Regions from separate parts of the Homo sapiens genome. Here all the other regions are linked to region 3. The links are contacts of gene promoters, found by promoter capture Hi-C in blood cells and fetal thymus (Javierre and others, 2016). All regions are on one chromosome and are shown on one strand. Each heading gives the region's core, a stretch centred on a gene start or on the middle of the fragment in contact. The rest is flanking DNA. Distances are from core to core; before and after follow the strand shown. Region 1 has its middle 8.2 kb from the start of GPR132. Region 2 has its middle 28 kb from the start of LINC02298. Region 3 holds the start of PACS2 (phosphofurin acidic cluster sorting protein 2). Region 4 has its middle 3.4 kb from the start of NUDT14. Region 5 has its middle 12 kb from the start of TMEM121. Region 6 holds the start of CRIP2 (cysteine rich protein 2).

What was found. The method cuts DNA at HindIII sites, captures the fragments that hold promoters and counts their contacts. A CHiCAGO score of 5 or more calls a contact.
Region 1: a contact is called between a fragment that was not itself captured here and the fragment with the promoter of PACS2 in region 3, in 8 of 17 cell types (naive CD4 T cells, monocytes, endothelial precursors and 5 more). The highest score is 7.8, in naive CD4 T cells.
Region 2: a fragment that was not itself captured here is called in contact with the fragment with the promoter of PACS2 in region 3 in 1 of 17 cell types (endothelial precursors); the score reaches 6.2 in endothelial precursors.
Region 4: a fragment that was not itself captured here is called in contact with the fragment with the promoter of PACS2 in region 3 in 3 of 17 cell types (naive CD4 T cells, non-activated CD4 T cells and total CD8 T cells); the score reaches 6.6 in naive CD4 T cells.
Region 5: a contact is called between a fragment that was not itself captured here and the fragment with the promoter of PACS2 in region 3, in 1 of 17 cell types (non-activated CD4 T cells). The highest score is 5.1, in non-activated CD4 T cells.
Region 6: the fragment with the promoter of CRIP2 here is called in contact with the fragment with the promoter of PACS2 in region 3 in 5 of 17 cell types (monocytes, naive CD8 T cells, neutrophils and 2 more); the score reaches 9.5 in monocytes.

Annotation. Positions count from the first base shown.
Region 1 is chr14:105,072,266-105,074,965 of GRCh38, reverse strand. No RefSeq gene overlaps it. Among named protein-coding and RNA genes, the nearest start is that of GPR132, 8.2 kb to the right of the region's middle. The HindIII fragment of the contact is 5,655 bases long and covers 1-2,700 here.
Region 2 is chr14:105,121,080-105,123,779 of GRCh38, reverse strand. No RefSeq gene overlaps it. Among named protein-coding and RNA genes, the nearest start is that of LINC02298, 28 kb to the right of the region's middle. The HindIII fragment of the contact is 2,298 bases long and covers 115-2,412 here.
Region 3 is chr14:105,313,457-105,316,156 of GRCh38, reverse strand. It overlaps PACS2 (phosphofurin acidic cluster sorting protein 2), which reads right to left and starts at 1,409. Exons shown (of 25, transcript NM_001100913.3): 1 at 1,120-1,409. The coding sequence starts at 1,238. It also overlaps a transcript of BRF1 not described here. RefSeq lists silencers at 788-867, 1,098-1,187, 1,328-1,857, 1,958-2,047 and an enhancer at 392-1,043. The HindIII fragment of the contact is 4,816 bases long and covers 1-2,700 here.
Region 4 is chr14:105,183,364-105,186,063 of GRCh38, reverse strand. No RefSeq gene overlaps it. Among named protein-coding and RNA genes, the nearest start is that of NUDT14, 3.4 kb to the right of the region's middle. The HindIII fragment of the contact is 4,988 bases long and covers 1-2,700 here.
Region 5 is chr14:105,537,206-105,539,905 of GRCh38, reverse strand. It overlaps the pseudogene ATP5MC1P1. Among named protein-coding and RNA genes, the nearest start is that of TMEM121, 12 kb to the right of the region's middle. The HindIII fragment of the contact is 2,155 bases long and covers 336-2,490 here.
Region 6 is chr14:105,473,527-105,476,226 of GRCh38, reverse strand. It overlaps CRIP2 (cysteine rich protein 2), which reads right to left and starts at 1,406. Exons shown (of 8, transcript NM_001312.4): 1 at 1,322-1,406. The coding sequence starts at 1,364. RefSeq lists silencers at 1,384-1,493, 1,674-1,743, 2,014-2,163, 2,254-2,343, 2,354-2,403 and an enhancer at 2,432-2,700. The HindIII fragment of the contact is 47,861 bases long and covers 1-2,700 here.

The DNA of each region.
Region 1 (2,700 bases), core at 1-2,500, 240 kb after region 3:
CTGCACGTCGCTCCTTCCTGAGTCCTGGAAGCTGGCCCTGGATGTGGCACCTGTTGGCTCCAGCTGGCTCCAGGCCCTCAAGGAGTGTCACAGGGACTGTTCGGCCGGGGTTTGCCTGCTGCTGCTACCCCCCCAGGGACGAAAAAGGATGGTCAGTGGAGACCAGGGACCGCCGGGGGCAGGAGCAGATACAGGGCGAGTGGACACGCCCCAAGGCCCAGCTCCACAGGGGTTGGGGGGACAGCCAGGCTCGAGGCGGGTTCCCTAGGGAAGTGCATTCCAAAGGGGATCAGCCCCCCACGCTGTGAAGGGCAATGAGAAGGATGCAGCCCCCACCAGGCCCAGCCCTTCCTTGGGGCCCCAGGGGAGGGTCTCTGAGGAGGGTGAGCTTCGGGGCAGGGGCCCTGAGCTGCAGGTGGAGGGGTGTACTCTGCGGTTGAGGAGAATTTTCAGGGGCCAGCTCTGGGGTTCAGGGGGCCACATGATACCAAGCCCTTACCCCAGAGAGCCACCCACACCCCACACTGAGGGTGGACCCCCCAACCTTGGCCTCCCACTGCTGCAGGGTCTTCCTCCCCACCAGTTCCTAGAGAGGAGAGCTGGGAGTGACAGTCCCCAGAGAGGGGACAGCCAGGAGCCCAGCTCTGGGAAGCCCCCAGGGACCTGCTTCAATCTCTCCTGGACCCTCCAGGTAACAGATGGGTTCTCGGAGCATCCCCTGCCAGCCCAGAGCTTGAGACCACAGGGGAATAGCCCCTGCCCCGGGAGCATCGAGCAGCCCAGACTGCAGCCAAACCCCGCGCCAAGCAGAGAGGGCAAGAGAATGACAAGCATGGTCCTGGGGGGCCGTGGACGCATGGTCACCGCGGGAGCAGTGGCGGAGGTGGCTGTGAGTTGGACCCTGGCAGGGAGCAAGACCCAGAGGCTGGTGGAGGAAACAGGTAGAGGAAGGGGAGTTTATTAGGGGGGTGGTGGTGCCGGGGGCGTGGCAGGCTCCGAGGCCCAGCTGGACACAAGGACCCAGATTCGTCTGGCCAGGCCTGGGCAACCCAGCCTCGACCACACTAGGTATGGGCTGCCCAGAAGAGGAGCCACTCTGCCCAGGGTGGGCTGCAGAACCTGATGGGCCAGAGTCCTGTCCTGGGATTGTTCCAGAAATCAAGGCTGTAGCTTGAGACTGGGGGCTTCCCCAGGTCTTCCACCCTGAGGGGAGAGCAGCTGGCCGTGGACACCACCCTCAGGGAGCTGAGAGGCCAGAGGTGGAGAGAGGCTGGGGGCCGGCTCTGCAGCCCCCAGGCCCCCACTGCAGCCCCCAGGCCACCCTTGGCTGCCGGCTTAGGGCCCTTGGCTTGCTCAGCCTATCTTTAGCCACCATGGCCTCGTAGGGTGCCCTGCAGCCCCTTCTTGGCCCAGGCGAGCCCTGGAGCAGTTCTTCACTTGGACAGGTGCATGGTTTACGGTGAGGGATTCAGCTTGCCAGAACCCGCATGCCCCTTGGAAGCCCCTTTTTCTGCCCCCAGCAGCTCCACTCCCACCACCGCACCCACCCCAGCAGCTAGTCTAAAGCTCTCTGTCTCCAGGGATGCTCCCAGCCCCCCTCCAGCAGATGGCCTTTCTGGAAACACCCTTAGGCTGAGCCTCTGTCCACTCCACTGGTGTAACCAACAACAGGGAGCTCCCAAGGACCCCACAAAAAGGCAGACATTGTAAGGGGGAAACTGAGGCCCAAAGTGTCCGGCAGCTTGCCCAGATCCCACGGGCAGGGAGCAGGAGCCGGGATTGGGCTCATTCCTTCAGCTGGCAACCGTCCATTTGTAGGGGCAGAGGCGGCAGGGACATAGCCTCCTGCTTGGAGCTGGGAAGCGGGGGCGGTGAGGGGGACACAGAGGAAGACTACCCAGCTCCACCCAGGCCTGCCTGTGGGGGCACTTCCTGCGGGATGCGGGGACTCTGATGAGACCCAAAGGAGGAATGAGAAATGTGGGCAGAGCTGGAGCCGGCCAGGGATGGGATGATCCCACAGGTGTGAGAGCAAGGGAGTGCCCTGTCCGCACCTCTGCTTTCTGGTGTCCCCACCATACCTTTCTGTTACGTCCCTTCTCTCCTTCTGAGAGGCTGTCCCATCCCAGCTGCACACCATTCTCATTGAAGTGAAAAGGCTGCCTCCCGACCCCAGCTGCCCAGGGCAGTCATCCACACCCTGGCTCTGGGCCATCCGCCCCTCTCGTGGTTCCTACGGTCCGTGTCCTCTGTGGCACCTCAAGTGCCCCCTGCCTGCCCCAGGGACAGCCACTCACTGGGCTCAGAGCCCCCTGACACACACACAGCAGGGGGCTTCGAGAGTCCAGGGATGCCTCCTGGAGTCACGGCTCTGCCAAGCTCCCCAAAGTTGACTTGGTGGGGGAGCTGGCATCCTGACTACATGGCCGTGTTGACAGGACCAGCGAGCAGCCTCCTGGTATCTGCTGTTAATCCTCATGACTGCTCTCAAACCTCTCAACTCTACTGAAGACACAGACACAGTCATGCCCACAGCTCCACAGAGAGTTCCTACCTAAACACCCGTGCAACCAGCACGTGATGAAGACACAGATATCACCAAGAACGGCTTGATGCCTCCTACAGAAGTGTCCATTGCATGTTGGAAGTTCCTGAGCTGAACAGCAAGGTTGTTTGCCATCTTCATCTCCCTAGGCAAGA
Region 2 (2,700 bases), core at 14-2,513, 190 kb after region 3:
GCCATACCACCCTGAACGCGCCTGATCCCGTCTGATAAAATGCACTCATTTCTGGCATACAATTCAATTACTTTTCACAAATGGAGAGTCATGCAATGGTAACGACGCTAAGCTTAGAACACCTCCGTCACCCCAAAAGGAGGCTGCACACCCTTGCAGTCACTCCCTGTTCCCACCCATGGTCCCCGGGGACTGAACCATTCCATTCATTTCCTGTCTCTGTAGATTTGCCTTTTCCAGACATTTTGTATCAGTGGGATCACAAGATCTGTGGTCTTTTGTGTCTGATGGCTTCCACTCAGCATAATGTGATGTTATTCCATGTATCAGAACTTTGTTCCTTTTTATTGCCATATCATATCCCACTGCATGAATAGACCACACTGTTTCTCCATTCACCAGTGGATAGACACTTGGGTTATTTCCAGTTTGGAGGCTACTATGAATAAAGCTGCTATAAATATTCATGTACAAGTTTCTATGTGCAGATATGTTTCCATTTCTCTTGGGTGGATACCTAGGAGTGGGATTGCTGGGCCATATGGTGACTCTATGTTTAACAATCCAAGAACCTGCCAAACTGTCTCCAAAGCAGTTGCTGCACCATTTTCCATTCCTGTTACCAATGCGCGAGGGTTCCAGCTTCTCCACAGCCTCTCCAACTCTTATCCGTCTTTCTGATTACAGGCACCCCAGGGTGTGCCTAGTGGTATCTTGTGGTTATAATTTGCATTTCTCTATTAACTAATGTTGCCAAGCATTTCTGAAAGCATCTGAATATGTCCTTTGGAGAAATAGCTCTTCAAATCTTTCAGCCATTTTAAATTGGGATGTTTGTCTTCTTACTTAGTTGTATGATACAGGCAACACATATTGTTAATATAAGTCCTTTAGGGAATATATAAGATTTGAGTGTTTTCTTGCATTCTCTGGGCTGGCTCCTTGTTGAAAAATCGATTGACCATAAATGTAAAAGATTACTTATGGATTTTCAGTTCTTTTCCGTTTATCTGTATGTCTATCATATTTCTAGTACCACATTGTCTTGATTACTGTGGCTTTGTAGTAAGTTTTGAAATTAGGACGTGTGAGTCTTCCAGCTTTGACCTTTTTTAAAGATTATATTGGCTATTTGGGGTACTTTATTGGCATGCCAATTTCTAGGAAAGCAAACAAAACAAAACAAAATAAAGCCAGCTGGAATTTTGGTAAGGACCACAATCAATCTGTAGATGAATGTGGGAATTATCGCTATCTTAACCGTGTTGAGTTGCCCAATCCATGAACATGGGATGTCTCTCCATTTAGATCTTCTTTCAACAACATTTTGTAATTTTCAGTGGACAGGACTGCACTTGCTCAAGGGGTCTTGAGATCCAGTCCTGGGACTGTTACGTGACGTGTCTAACACACTCTGTGGACACAGTTCTGGGGTCCACGCACCAGATACAAGACATGGGGAAAGAGACTACCCCTGTTGGTAGGAAGCATTGCAAGGCCACGTGGTACAGAGTGTGGATCCGGGGATGGTGAAGAAATGTGGCCATTGCTCTCACCTTTTTAGCACAGGTGTGAATGATGACTATGAGGAATGAGGATTGGGCAGCTGCTGATGCCTGCACTGGGGAACTTAATGAAAGTCAGTGCCAATCCTATTGCCAAACGTCTTCATTTACAAATGACCAAAAATGGAGCATCTATCGTGGCCCTAACCACTTACCTCGTGTAGCCTCAGCACTGACTTAGTTGAAAGTCACCCCAAATTGGCCTTGGAGGTTGCAGAAGTCCAAGGAAAGCTGAATCTAGAGCCTCACCAGGTCATGTATGTGAAAGTTTGCATCATCTGGAGAAGAATAGGGTCCTGAGAATCAGAATGAGAATATTACCTGGGTTGGAATGAGTCTGATGAACTTGAACTTCCAACCGCCCTCCAGACTCCCTGGCTAGCAAAGTAGCCTCTCCTCCCCTGTGTAGACTGTGTCTACACTGGCCTTCCTTTGTAGACTGGCCTTCCTTTGCTTGACAGGTGAGTGGTACAGATTTTTAACCTTGCCCAACAGGAAGTCCGGTCTTTGCCTTCAGCTCCTGGGTGCTAATCTCCAGGTCCTTAGGATGTCCAGCCTAATAAGAGGGTCTTTGTTTCTGTGGAGGTTTTGGGCCACACCAGAGAGTCTACGCTTACAATGTGATTTATGGTGGGAGTCTCAGGTCACATGGGATTGCCTAATGTCCAGAGGGACCAGAGACTGAGGTTGGCCACAAAGGCAATCAACCATGGAGTCCAATAAAGACTTTGGACACTGAGGCTCAAGTGAGCTTCCCTGCTTGGCCATACTCCATGCAGACTGTCACACATCAATACCAAGAAGTCACACCATCTACAGCTCTGTAGGGAGAGGACACCTAGAAGCTTGCACATGGTGTCTGCTGGCCCCTGACCCCAGTGTCTCTTCCTTTGGCTGCTTTTAATCCGTATCTTTTTGCTGTAATCAACCATAAACACGAGTATAACAGCTTTCAGTGAGTTCTGTGGGCCCTTCTGGTAAATTGTTGAACCACAGAGTGATCTTGGGAACCCTCCAAACCTACAGTGGGTGTCAGAAGTAAGGGCAGTCTTGCAGAATGCACCCCCTAACTTCATGCCTGCCCTGTAATCACCTCCCCCAAGGCAGTTGTTTGCTGGGGGATTCTCCCTTCTCA
Region 3 (2,700 bases), core at 160-2,659:
AAACCAAAGCCCCGAGGTCCCAACCCTGCGCTCCAGGAGGGCAAGCCCCACTGTCCAGCGGCTCTGCAACTCCAACACCACGCTCAGAGATGCAGGCTGTGGGAGCCACAGGAAAGCACGGAGAGGCCCACCTGCAGCTGACTAGGGGTGGAACAACTCAATGCCACGTGGGGTCCCCTCCAGGCATACTGGCCACTTCCAGTGCCTGGAAGGTCCGCTCACCCTCCCATCTCCCCAGGGAGAACTCTCACTACCCCCAACCGCCTCCTCTTCTCGCCTGCTGTCTATTCTAGAACCAGAACTTTTCCGGAGAGCGTGTCTCTCTCCTCCTTAGCCTGGGAGCTTCCTGAGCAGGAACTACCAAGTCACGAAGAAATTACAAAAGTTTCAAACTGAGCAGGAGACTCAGGGAAGCTGCAAGTCCAAGGAAGGCTGGGCTATGGCCGGAGGGTAAACCCTGTCCAATCGTTACCGCTGGGCGACCGGGCGCCCCCCTACCAAGTGCAGAACAGCCAGTCTTCCGCAATGGCAAGATCAACTGGGAGGCGCAAATAGCAGTACTGGCTTGGCGACGCCTCTAAATGAGAGACAGCGCCAACCAGGTACCCGCGAGGACGACCCCGCCCCGCAGGACAGGGCATCTCCACCGCGCGCTGGACGGAGGATACAACCGAGTCCTGCGCGCCCCGTGCGCCGGGGGTCGCTCCCAGGCCGAGGTCTGACAGTGTCGCCGAACGCGAAAGGAAGCGTGTGGTACCCGAGAGAGGAAGCACCCTCGTCACCCCGGCCGGCACCGCATTGAGGCAGGTGTGCAGGTGCGGTTGCGGCGAGCCAGGTGAGCGCCGCCCGGGAGCCCCAAGGTCCCGCCGGGTCTGAGCAGCACCGGGTCCTCGGAAGCTGAGCGCGGCCCCCGGTGCTCGGGACCTGGGGGGCTGGGGCCGCGCTTGCCGGAGCTGCGGGGGGGCGGCGGCTGCACGCGTCGAACCGGCGGGCGGGGGCGCGGGGGGCGACCTGGGCTCCGCTGGGGGACCCGGGCCGGGGATGGGGCGCGCAGAGGCCGCGGCCAGGACACCCCCAGCAGGTGCCCGGCGGGAACAAAGCGCGGCGGGCGGCGCGTACCTGGGCACGCAGCTGGGGCTGGAGCCGTCCACCTCCCAGGTGGCGAACAGGTTCATGGGCACGGGCGTGTTGAGCGCGCCGGGCGCGCCGGGGAGGCCGAGGCGGCCTCGCTCGGCCATGGCGCCGGCCCCGCCGCTCCCTCGGCGGCCTGGGGCTGCGGCCGGGCCGCGGACGCGCGGCGGGCGGGCCGGGCGCGCGGAGGGCGGCGGCGCGGTCACATGGCTGCCGGGCGGCGGAGGGGACGGGCCGGGCCCCGGCGTCGGACAGGCCCGCGGGCGGCGACGAGCTGCGGCCGCTCCGCCCCGCCCCGCCCGGCGCCCCGCCCGCGCCCCGCGCGCCCCCGGCCGCCCCGCGCGCGCCCGGCGCCCTCCGACCCGCGCCGGCGCCGCCGATTGGCTGGGCGGGGCGCCAGCTCGCCGCCTCGGGTCCAATCGCCGCCGGCGCAGCGCGCGCCGGAAGTGAGGTGCGCGCGCGCTTCCTCCGGCGGCGCCTCACGGGGCGTCCCCGCCCGCCGGTGCGCGAGAGCGCGCACTCACGCGCCTGCGCACAGACCCCGCCCGGGGCGCCCCGCCCCGCCCCCCGGGAGCCGCGGGCAAGGGCCGGGAGAGTCGTGGGGGTCCACCGGGTCCCGGCCAGCTTCAGGCGCCGCCCCCTAAGGAAAGCTCATCGTCGCCCTGGCGATGCCCACCTCCCCACGCGCGGATTCCCCGGCCTCGACACTTTCCCGCCTCCACCCCGCCATGCCCCGAGTCTCCCCGCCCCCCTGCCCTCGCCGCCCCTTGTCTCCTGCCGACCCCCGCTGGGTTGGCCCGGCTGTGCGGGCCCCGCCCGTCCCCGAGCCCCTCCCTCGCGCCCCCCTGCGTGGGTTCCCCGGGACGCAGGGAGGTGGCAAGGAGGTGGCCGGGCCTGGCGGCGGTCGCGGGGACTCGAAGCCACTCGGGGCGCCAGGCTGCCGAGCTTAGCCTCCAGGGCTCCAGATGACCCCGGGCGCCCTCTTTGCGTCCCAGCATCCTTATTCAGCGCCGCTTTTCAGCGTTGTGCTCAGGACAATGGAGAACAAATGTCTGGGGCCAAGGCTGGCTCCTGGCCCTGGGGTTAACAGTGAACTTGGGGACCCAAGCAAAGAGGAGGCAATGGCTAGAGCCGCTGGGGCCCGACGTGTAGGCTCTGGGGCTCAGGGAGGGTGCTTCCCCCATCTGTTTGGCAGCGGCTGTGGTCCAGCACCAGATGCCAAGCCGAGATTTAGGAAACGGTTTTCTGGCCTCTCTTCTGTTTCCTTGTTTCACAGTTAGTTTACAGTTGCTTTTCTCTTCGCCCTGTGTCTTGTCTACAAGTAGTTTTACTGAAACAAATCCAGCCCGAGCAAATTGACCTGGAGCTGGTTTCTTTCCTGGCCCACGGGGCTTGCCACCCCAGTGCCCCGTCAGCTCCTTCTGCAAAGGCCCTCATGCCGCTGCTTCCTCCGTTGAGAGAGCTCAGCCTCCAGCTGTAACTCCTGTATCTAGAACTGCAAACAGCTGCGACTGCTTAAAGTCAGGGTCCCACTTCGGAGAGAACAAGGGACTCTGTGTTTCCCACGCG
Region 4 (2,700 bases), core at 94-2,593, 130 kb after region 3:
TGGACTTCTGTGCCCCACACCCCCGACCTCCTGACCCCCCATCCTGATCCTCCTCCAGCTTCCCCTCAACTCAGCCTCTCTCGGGACACTCCCTCTGCACTTACCTCGGAATCCCCGCCCCTGGCTTTCCTGCACCCCTCCCGCCCCTGACTCCCCCACGTCCTCCCCACCCCCCGCACCCCCACCTGGGCTCTGTCATGCCTGTAGCTCCCTGCTCAGTGTCCTCAACTCTCCAATCCACCTGCTGCCTGTGACCTTACTGGGAAGGAGCTGAGCCATGGAGGAGCCCAGGGGCCCCCCTTGTACCTGCCCTGCCTCCAGCATGGCCCAGGAGCATCCCCAGCCCGGTGCCACCAGGAAGCCTTGCTCCCCAGGCCCCCTCGGAGCCCGCACCCAAGCCCCCTGCCAACAGGGGCCACTTCGCCTCCCTCCCCTCCCATCTCATCCTTGGCAGGGGCCCTTGCCTCACTCCCCTTACAGAGGAAGGGGGACAGAAGCCCACAGCGGTCTCCTAGGTGTCCTGCAAGAAACCCGCCCACTTGCTGCGGGGCGAGGCCCCAGGCTGCAGATCCTGGCGCCACAGGGTCCTGCCCTGGTGGTGATGCCCTCCCGACGCATCCTCCCCAGAGTCCACACCTGGATCCCCAGAACCTGCGAGTATGGACCTTCTGTGGCAAAGGGGACTTAGCAGGTTTGACTAACAGAAGGACCCGAGGTGGGAGATGGCCCCGGATGGCCCCGGATGACCCGGGGGGGCCCTAAATTGTGGTCACAAGGACCTCAGAAGAGGGAGCAGGAGGGTGGAGACGCGAGGACGGAGGCAGAGTCGGGGGAGGACGGAGGGGCGCTCTGCTGGCCTTGAAGGTGAGGAGGGGGCGGGGGCCGCCTCCGGAAGCTGGAGAAGACAAGGAATGGATCTTCCCCTGGAGCCCCCAGAAGGAGCCGCCCTGTGACCCTTGACCTTCACCCGGTGGGATGCGTTTTGGACACCCGTCCCCCAGGGCTGGAAGGCCATGGCCGTGCTGTTCCCAGCTGCTGGGTTGGCAGTGGTTTGTCTTGGCAGCCCTGGGGAGCTGACACTGGTGCTCTCACCCCACATGCCCTCTGGCCCCGCTACAGGGCATCTGCAGGGGCCTCTGCCACTATGCTCAGCAGGGTCTTTGAAGCCTCCACACTGCCAAAGCCAGAGGTGGCTTTTCAGAGCTCTCCACTGTGGCTCTCAGGCCACCTGGCCACACGGAGTCCTCTCATTCCCCCTCCTGGAGCCCCTCCCCAAATCAAGCTCCTCCTCCTCCTCCTGCACCTGCTTCCATGGGGAACGAAGCCATCCTCTGCACAGCCACCACTCTGGACAACAGCCAAAGGCCCTCGGACCAGTCTCCTCCTCCCCCGGCCCCAGGCAGCCACGGTGACCTCCCAGAGGGGCATCTGACCACCTGCCCTGCCCAACCCCTCCGAGACTTCCAGTGGCCCCAGGGGATGTGCCAAGCACAGGCCAAGGGAGCTGCCCCCAGGGCCACAACGCCTCTTCTGGCCTCGGTCTCCTCCTGCCAGGACAGCTTCCTTTCTCCTGCCTTGGATCTTCGGGTTTCTGGGGAGTGTCGTGTCCTCGGGGAGGCTGTCCTCTGCCTCTTGGCATGCCTGTCCTAACTTCTTGTGACATCAGGCCTGCCCCGAATCACCTGTTCGAGCCACCCCAGTGCACAGCAGGAACTGGTAAAGTGCCTGGGCTGCTTCTGCCTTTTCTCCCTTTCCATCTCGGAGGGACAGCAGGCCTCACTTGCCCTGTCCTCAGCTCCACGTGTGGGCAGTGGCCTTGTGGTCATAGACAGCATGGAATGTTCCTGAATAGCCTCAGTGACACTGGTTTTTCCTTTTTTTAAAAAAAAAAAAATTGAACCGAGCCAGGCATGGTAGTGTGAACCTGTAGTCCCAGCTACTCAGCAGGCCGAGGTGGGGGAATTGCTTGGGGCCAGGAGTTCAAGTCCAGCCTGAGCCACATCATGAGACCCTATCTCTAAATAAAATTTGTTTAAAATGGAACTGAAATTCACAGAACATTAAACACTTCACAGTGCACACTGAGCGGCATTCAGTACATTCATACTGCTGTGCGGCCACCAGCACTGCCTGCTTCCAGAATGCCTTCTTCACCCCAAACGGAAAGGAAAGCCGGCACCCATTAGTCAGCATTCTTCATTCTCCCGCCCTCAGCCCCACCAGTCCGCAGCTGCTTTTCCGTCTCATGGATTTACCTGTTCTGGACATTTTCTTTTTTCTTTCTTGCTTTTTGTCTCCCTCCCTCCCTTTCTCTGCCTTGCCTTGCCTTGCTTTGCCTTTGCCTTTGCCTTTGCCTTTCTTGATGGAGTCTTACTCTGTCACCCAGGCTGGAATGCAGTGTCAAGATCTCAGCTCACCGCAACCTCTCCCTCCCGTGTGCAAGCGATTCTCGTGCCTCAGCCTCCCGAGAAGCTGGGATTACAAGCACACACCACCACGGCTGGCTTTTAGTAGAGACAGGGTTTCACCATGTTGTCCAGGCTGGTCTCGAACTCTTGACATCACGTGATCTGCCTGCCTCGGCCTCCCAAAGTGCTGGGATTACAGGCATGAGCCACCGCGCCCGGCCTGGACATTTCATATACACAAAATCGCAGAGGACACGGCCTTTGTGTCTGGCTTCTTTTGCTGAGCATAGTG
Region 5 (2,700 bases), core at 164-2,663, 220 kb before region 3:
GGAGGCCGAGGCGGGCGGATCACGAGGTCAGGAGATCGAGACCATCCTGGCTAACACGGTGAAACCCCATCTCTACTAAAAATACAAAAAATTAGCCGAGTGTGGTGGCATGTGCCTGTACTCCCGGCTACTCAGAAGGCTGAGGCAGGAGAATCGCTTGAACCCAGGAGGCGGAGGTTGCAATGAGCCAAGATCGCACCACTGCACTCCAGCCTGGCGAGAAAGCAAGACTCCGTCTCAAAAAAAAAAAACAAAAAAAAATCACTAAAAGCTGTGGAACAAGGAGGACACCTTAACTTATATGAAAATTGATCATCTGGGCCAGTTCTGAAGCTTGTCTCAATCCAGATTTGTCAGAAACTGGATCCAGTGAGCACCATCGCCTGCCCCAGACCCAATCAGCCAAGCATGGGGAGAGCAAAGAATTTCGAAGTTTAAAGTGTGCCATGAAGAACTGCTTTGTGTTGGATAAATAAGTTTAAATTATTTGAAATCTGGATTTTTATTTCTTTCTTTGTGTTTTGTGTGGGTTTTCTTGAGACAGGGTCTTGCTATGTTGTCCAGGCTGGAGTGCAGTGGCACCATCTCTGCTTGCTGTAGCCTTGACCTCCTGGGCTCAGGTGATCCTCCTGCCTCAGCCTCCTGAGTAGCTGGGACCACAGGCACGCGCAACCATGCCTGGCTAATTTTTAAAATTTTTTTAGAGACAAGGTCTCACTACATTGCCCAGGCTGGTCTCAAACTCCTGGGCTCAAGCAATCCTCCTCCCACCTCAGCCTCCCAAAGTGCTGGGATTGCAGGGGTGAGCCACAGCACCCAGCCCTCAGAAATCTTTTGTAATGCCCAGTGATGTTTGTAATGTGTTGATAACAGACACCAAGTCAGGGTCTCTCGTTCCTGAACACAAGTGGGACAGAGTCCCAGCCTTCTTGTGGCAGATGTCACCGTGAGGCTGGGCCCTGGACAACAGTGAGTGAGATAAGCCGGGGAGCTTCGACCGGGCCAGGCTGTCGGGGCCTCAGCCCGAGTGTGACCCAGGGCAAGCCAGGGTCAGTCTGCGATGAGCGTCAAGGTTCAGTGTGGACCTGCACTCAGGGCCTGGGACTGTGGGAGACACGTCCGTCGGGGACGAGGCCGAAACAAACAGCCCCAAGCGCTCAGTGGCTTCAGCAGCAAAGGGTTGTCTCCTGCTTGGGCTTTGGTGGGGAGGTGGGATCCACTCCAGAGCTCACTCAGGGCCCAGGCTGAGGCAGCCCCACCTTCCTTAGCCCACCCCGTGCAACCGCAGCCTCTCCGGACGCTGCAACAGGGAGATGCTGCTGGGCCATGGTCAGCCGGGAGGTGACACAAAGGTGGCGCAGGAGGTGATGCGGGAGGTGACACAGAGCTGATGCAGGTGATGCGGGAGGTGACACAGAGCTGATGCAGGTGATGCGGGAGGTGACACAGAGCTGATGCAGGTGATGTGGGAGGTGACACAGAGCTGATGCAGGGGATGTGGGAGGTGACACAGCTGATGCAGGTGATGTGGGAGGTGACACAGCTGATGCAGGAGGTGACATGGAGGTGACACACAGATGACACGGGAGGTGACGTGGGAGTTGATACGAACCCACTGGCCAGGCCCTCGCTGCCGGGGCAGGCAGAGGCAAGGGAGCAGATGAGTGTTCAGTGAGCAGAATCGGGCTCGGGTTCTGGTCAGGGGCATCAGCACAGCCTGGGGCTGGGGCAGCCTCAGCCTTTGGCCGCGCAGGGTCCTGTGGGGTCGGGGGGTCGGGGCACCACTGGCAGGTCCCGGTCTCACAGCCGGGTCCCGCGGCTCCCTCCTCAAAGGGACCCAGAGCCGGGCTCGGGAGCCCCCTTGTGGCCATCTGGCGACACTGCAGGCTCCGCCGGCGCGAAGGTCCAGAGGCTCCCGCATGCCCCAGCCAGGTAGGGTTCTCAGGCAGGTGAGCTTTGTGGGCAGCCTCACCTGCCAGGAATATGTGTGCCCCCTGCCTGCAGGCCAGCCTTGGCCACGGTCCAGTCCCAACATAATATCACTTGGTGAGGCCTACCCTGACCCAAGGCCTGCCTGAGTGGGGTCTCTCTGTGTGGCCCTGCCCCAACCTCCCTGCATCACACTCCACCCCACGCACCTGTGTGATACCTGTCTCCCTCCAGGCGTGGAGCCTCTCCTCCTAGGAGGCATCCCAGAGACACCCCGGGGGGCCGGGGTCACTCAGGTGCACCCCACAGGTGCAGGTTGCAGGTGGGAGAGCAGCACACAGCTGCTGTGTGGCTCCTGCAGTGGGCCCTGCCTCCCATGCTGTGGATTTGGCATCCGGTACACAGGCCCACTGCGCCTCACCATCCCCTCCAGGCCCACCAGCCGTTTCTGTGCAACTTCCCGCAGCAGCCTTGAAAGTGTTCACTGTGGGAACGCAACACGGACCAGCTCTCGAGGAAAGCACCCCCTGGGGCGGATACTCATGAGGGCGGGAGAAAGCTTTCCTCAAGGCTCACGCACTTTGAAACATGTTTCCGATGATCTCCACATTCAGCTTATTTCATAAGCAATGAGTAAAAGTGAGTCGGTCACCTTAGGTCACCTTCAGCCGGGCGAGTGCTGTGGGCCCGCAGGTGCTGCAGGGCAGTGGGAGTGCAGACAGAAAATGCAGACCCCCGGGCATTACTCACCTCTCCAGCTCTGGTCCGCTG
Region 6 (2,700 bases), core at 157-2,656, 160 kb before region 3:
GAGCCCCAGGCTGGCCTGGCCCGGCCTGGGGTAAAGTCATGGGCAGTTGGACTGCAGAAGGGCCCTGGGGACCGTCTCCCACCCTAAGCCTTACAGAGACAGCCCTCGCTGGGACAGAGACTGAGGGCTGAGCGGGCTCCAGGAGAGGCAGCCGGAAGCCCCTCGGCTCCCAGCCACGCCAGAAGCACTCCAGGCCAAATCCGGTCCCTCCCCTCTGGGACGGGCAAAATACAACCTCCCCTCAACCCCCTCCAGCCTGTGAGCCGGGGAAGCCCAGTGGCGGCCTTCCCTGCAGCCTGGCCGCATTCTGGGTATGGGGCGACCAGGGCAGGCGCCCTGTTGGTCCCGGCCCTCCTCTCTGCTTCACTAAGTCTGCCCCCCTTCGTGCAGCAGCTGGTGGGTAGGTGGGCAGGGACCTTACCACCCTGGAGAAAGCTGGGCAGCGAATCAGCCAGGAGGAAGGGGGTAGGAAGGGCGCACCCAGGCCCAGAGAGTGAGTAAGCCCAGACGGGGGGAGCGCGCCTGCCGGAGGGGCTAGACCGAGGGCCGCCTTGCGAGACATCCCTCTTCCCGCCACCACCTGCATCCTGTCCAGGGCTGTTCTGACCTTGAGGAGGCAGGGATCCTGGACACCTGGGCTGCTTGAGCACAAGGTCCCTCTCACGTTCGCGGGAACTCGCGTGTCACACCCGCCCCCACCCTACCCCCGTGTGAAACTCCTGGGGGAACTGGCGCCAAGGGAATGCGTCGGGACAAGCAGGAGGCAGAGGCCAAGGTCGCCCCCGCTTGGACTGAATCCCGACAGAGTCCAAACCTGGCCCAGCCCAGCTCAGCGGAGCCCGGAGTGGGAGCTGGGGGTCACTGTTCCCGGCCACTTGTTCCCGGGGGAAGCGGGTGTAGGGGGTCCAGGAGAAAGGGCCCAGGCCCACGGGAGCGCGCGGGACGCACCCGGGGCGTACAGCCACGCCCTGCCCCGCCCCGCCCGGCGCCGTCCGAGGAACCGGGATGCGTCCGCGGATCCCCGAGCGCTCCCCCAAACACTGGCCTCATCCCGGGGCACCACAAGCCCCGCCCGGGTGGTCCCTGCCCCGCCCCCACAAGCCGCTTCGGGGTTCGGGCGTGACCGCCCCCGCTTTCGCGCAGCCCCACCCTTTGGCTTTAGCCGCTTGGGCAGCGCGGCCAGCCAGCCTCCGGGACGCGCATCCTCGGTCCGGGGCCGGGGCCGGGCGCACCCCGAGTTACGCCGCGGCTCTGCGGCGCGGGACTGGCCGCGAAGGGCGGCGGGATGCACCGAGCGGGCCGGGAGCGGGCACGCACTCACCGAAGTACACGGTCTTGTCGCACTTGGGGCATTTGGAGGCCATGGTCGGTGCGCCCGGTCGGCCCGCGCCCTCCGCCCGTTCTCCTCCGGGCCGCCGCCGCCCGCGCCCAGCCCCGCCTGCCCGGCTGTCCGCGCGCCCATTGGCTCCGCGGCCGGGGCGGGGCCTCGATAACCCGTCCCCCGGGCTGGGGGCCGCCTGGGGGCGCCGCGGGGGCGGGGCGCACCTGCCGGGGGTGGCGGGTGCGGGGCAGCCGGGCCAGGCCTGGCGCCCCCGGGCCCCTCGCGCCGGAGGTGGCGTCTACAGGGGCCCGCCCGGGCGACCGCGGCGCCGCCCGCGCCCCGGCTGTTTCCATGGCGACGTCGGGGCCGCCTGGCCGGGCCGTCCCCGGGGCGGCGGGCAGGGTGCGGGGAGCCTGGCCCTCGGCTCTCGGGGAGCCCTAGTGACTTGGGCCTAGGGGTCCAACACTCCCGGCCCTGGGCGCCCAGGCTGCGCTCCGCCGCGGGAAGGGGTCGCAGGCTCCGGGAGAACCCCACCCCCACCCCGCCGCGCGCGGCGCCTGTCCCGCTTCCCTTTGTTGCTCGGTTTCCATAGCAACAGCCGCGCCGCGGGAGCGGAGTCAGATTCCCGGCGGGCACGGCCCCCAGCCCTGTCCGGGTCTCCATGTCCCGCTCCGCCCCCGCCCGCGCCCCGCCCCAACACTGTCTGTGGTGCTGAAGGCTCCTTGGGTGGAGGGCAGGGCTCAGGAAGGAAGGCGCCGCCACCTCCAGAAACAGCTCGAGAAGCTGCTGGTAGGGGGTGTGGGGAGGTCTGCGTCTGCCTCCCAGGCAGGGAAGGGGCGGCGGGCACCAGCGCCGAGGGATCCGCGCTTAAGGCGTCCACCCCAAGCACTTCCACCCAGGGGGCGGCCGGGGAGGCGGTGAGGAGTTAGGAAGGGAAGGAGGGGAAGGAGTGGGCGTGCCCTCTGTGCCCCGGGCTGGGGCTGACACTCCAGTCCCTTCTCCCGCACCGCCCAGGACCAGCTGCGTGCCTGGGGGCCCAGGGCCTGACCTCGAGGGGTCAGGCGGGAGATTGAGGGGTCATGCCAGTCACCGCACCCCCACACCCCCACTCTGGCCTCCTCCCAACCAGGGCGTGCCTGACCACGCCTCACCACAGTGCCTCCGCCCTAGAGCCCCGTAGAGCCTGGCCCCAGGTGGGGAACCTCCGCACCCACGGGCTTCCTGGTGCTCTGTCCCCATGGGCCCTTCTCTGAGCCTTCTGGCCCCAGCTGAGCGTCGGCCTGGGAGACAGGCAGATCCCAGAAGCCCAGTGATCAGGCCCTATGGGGGCAGCTGACTCTGGACACCCTTCCCCCTGTGTCTTGGAGGCTGTGGGCTGG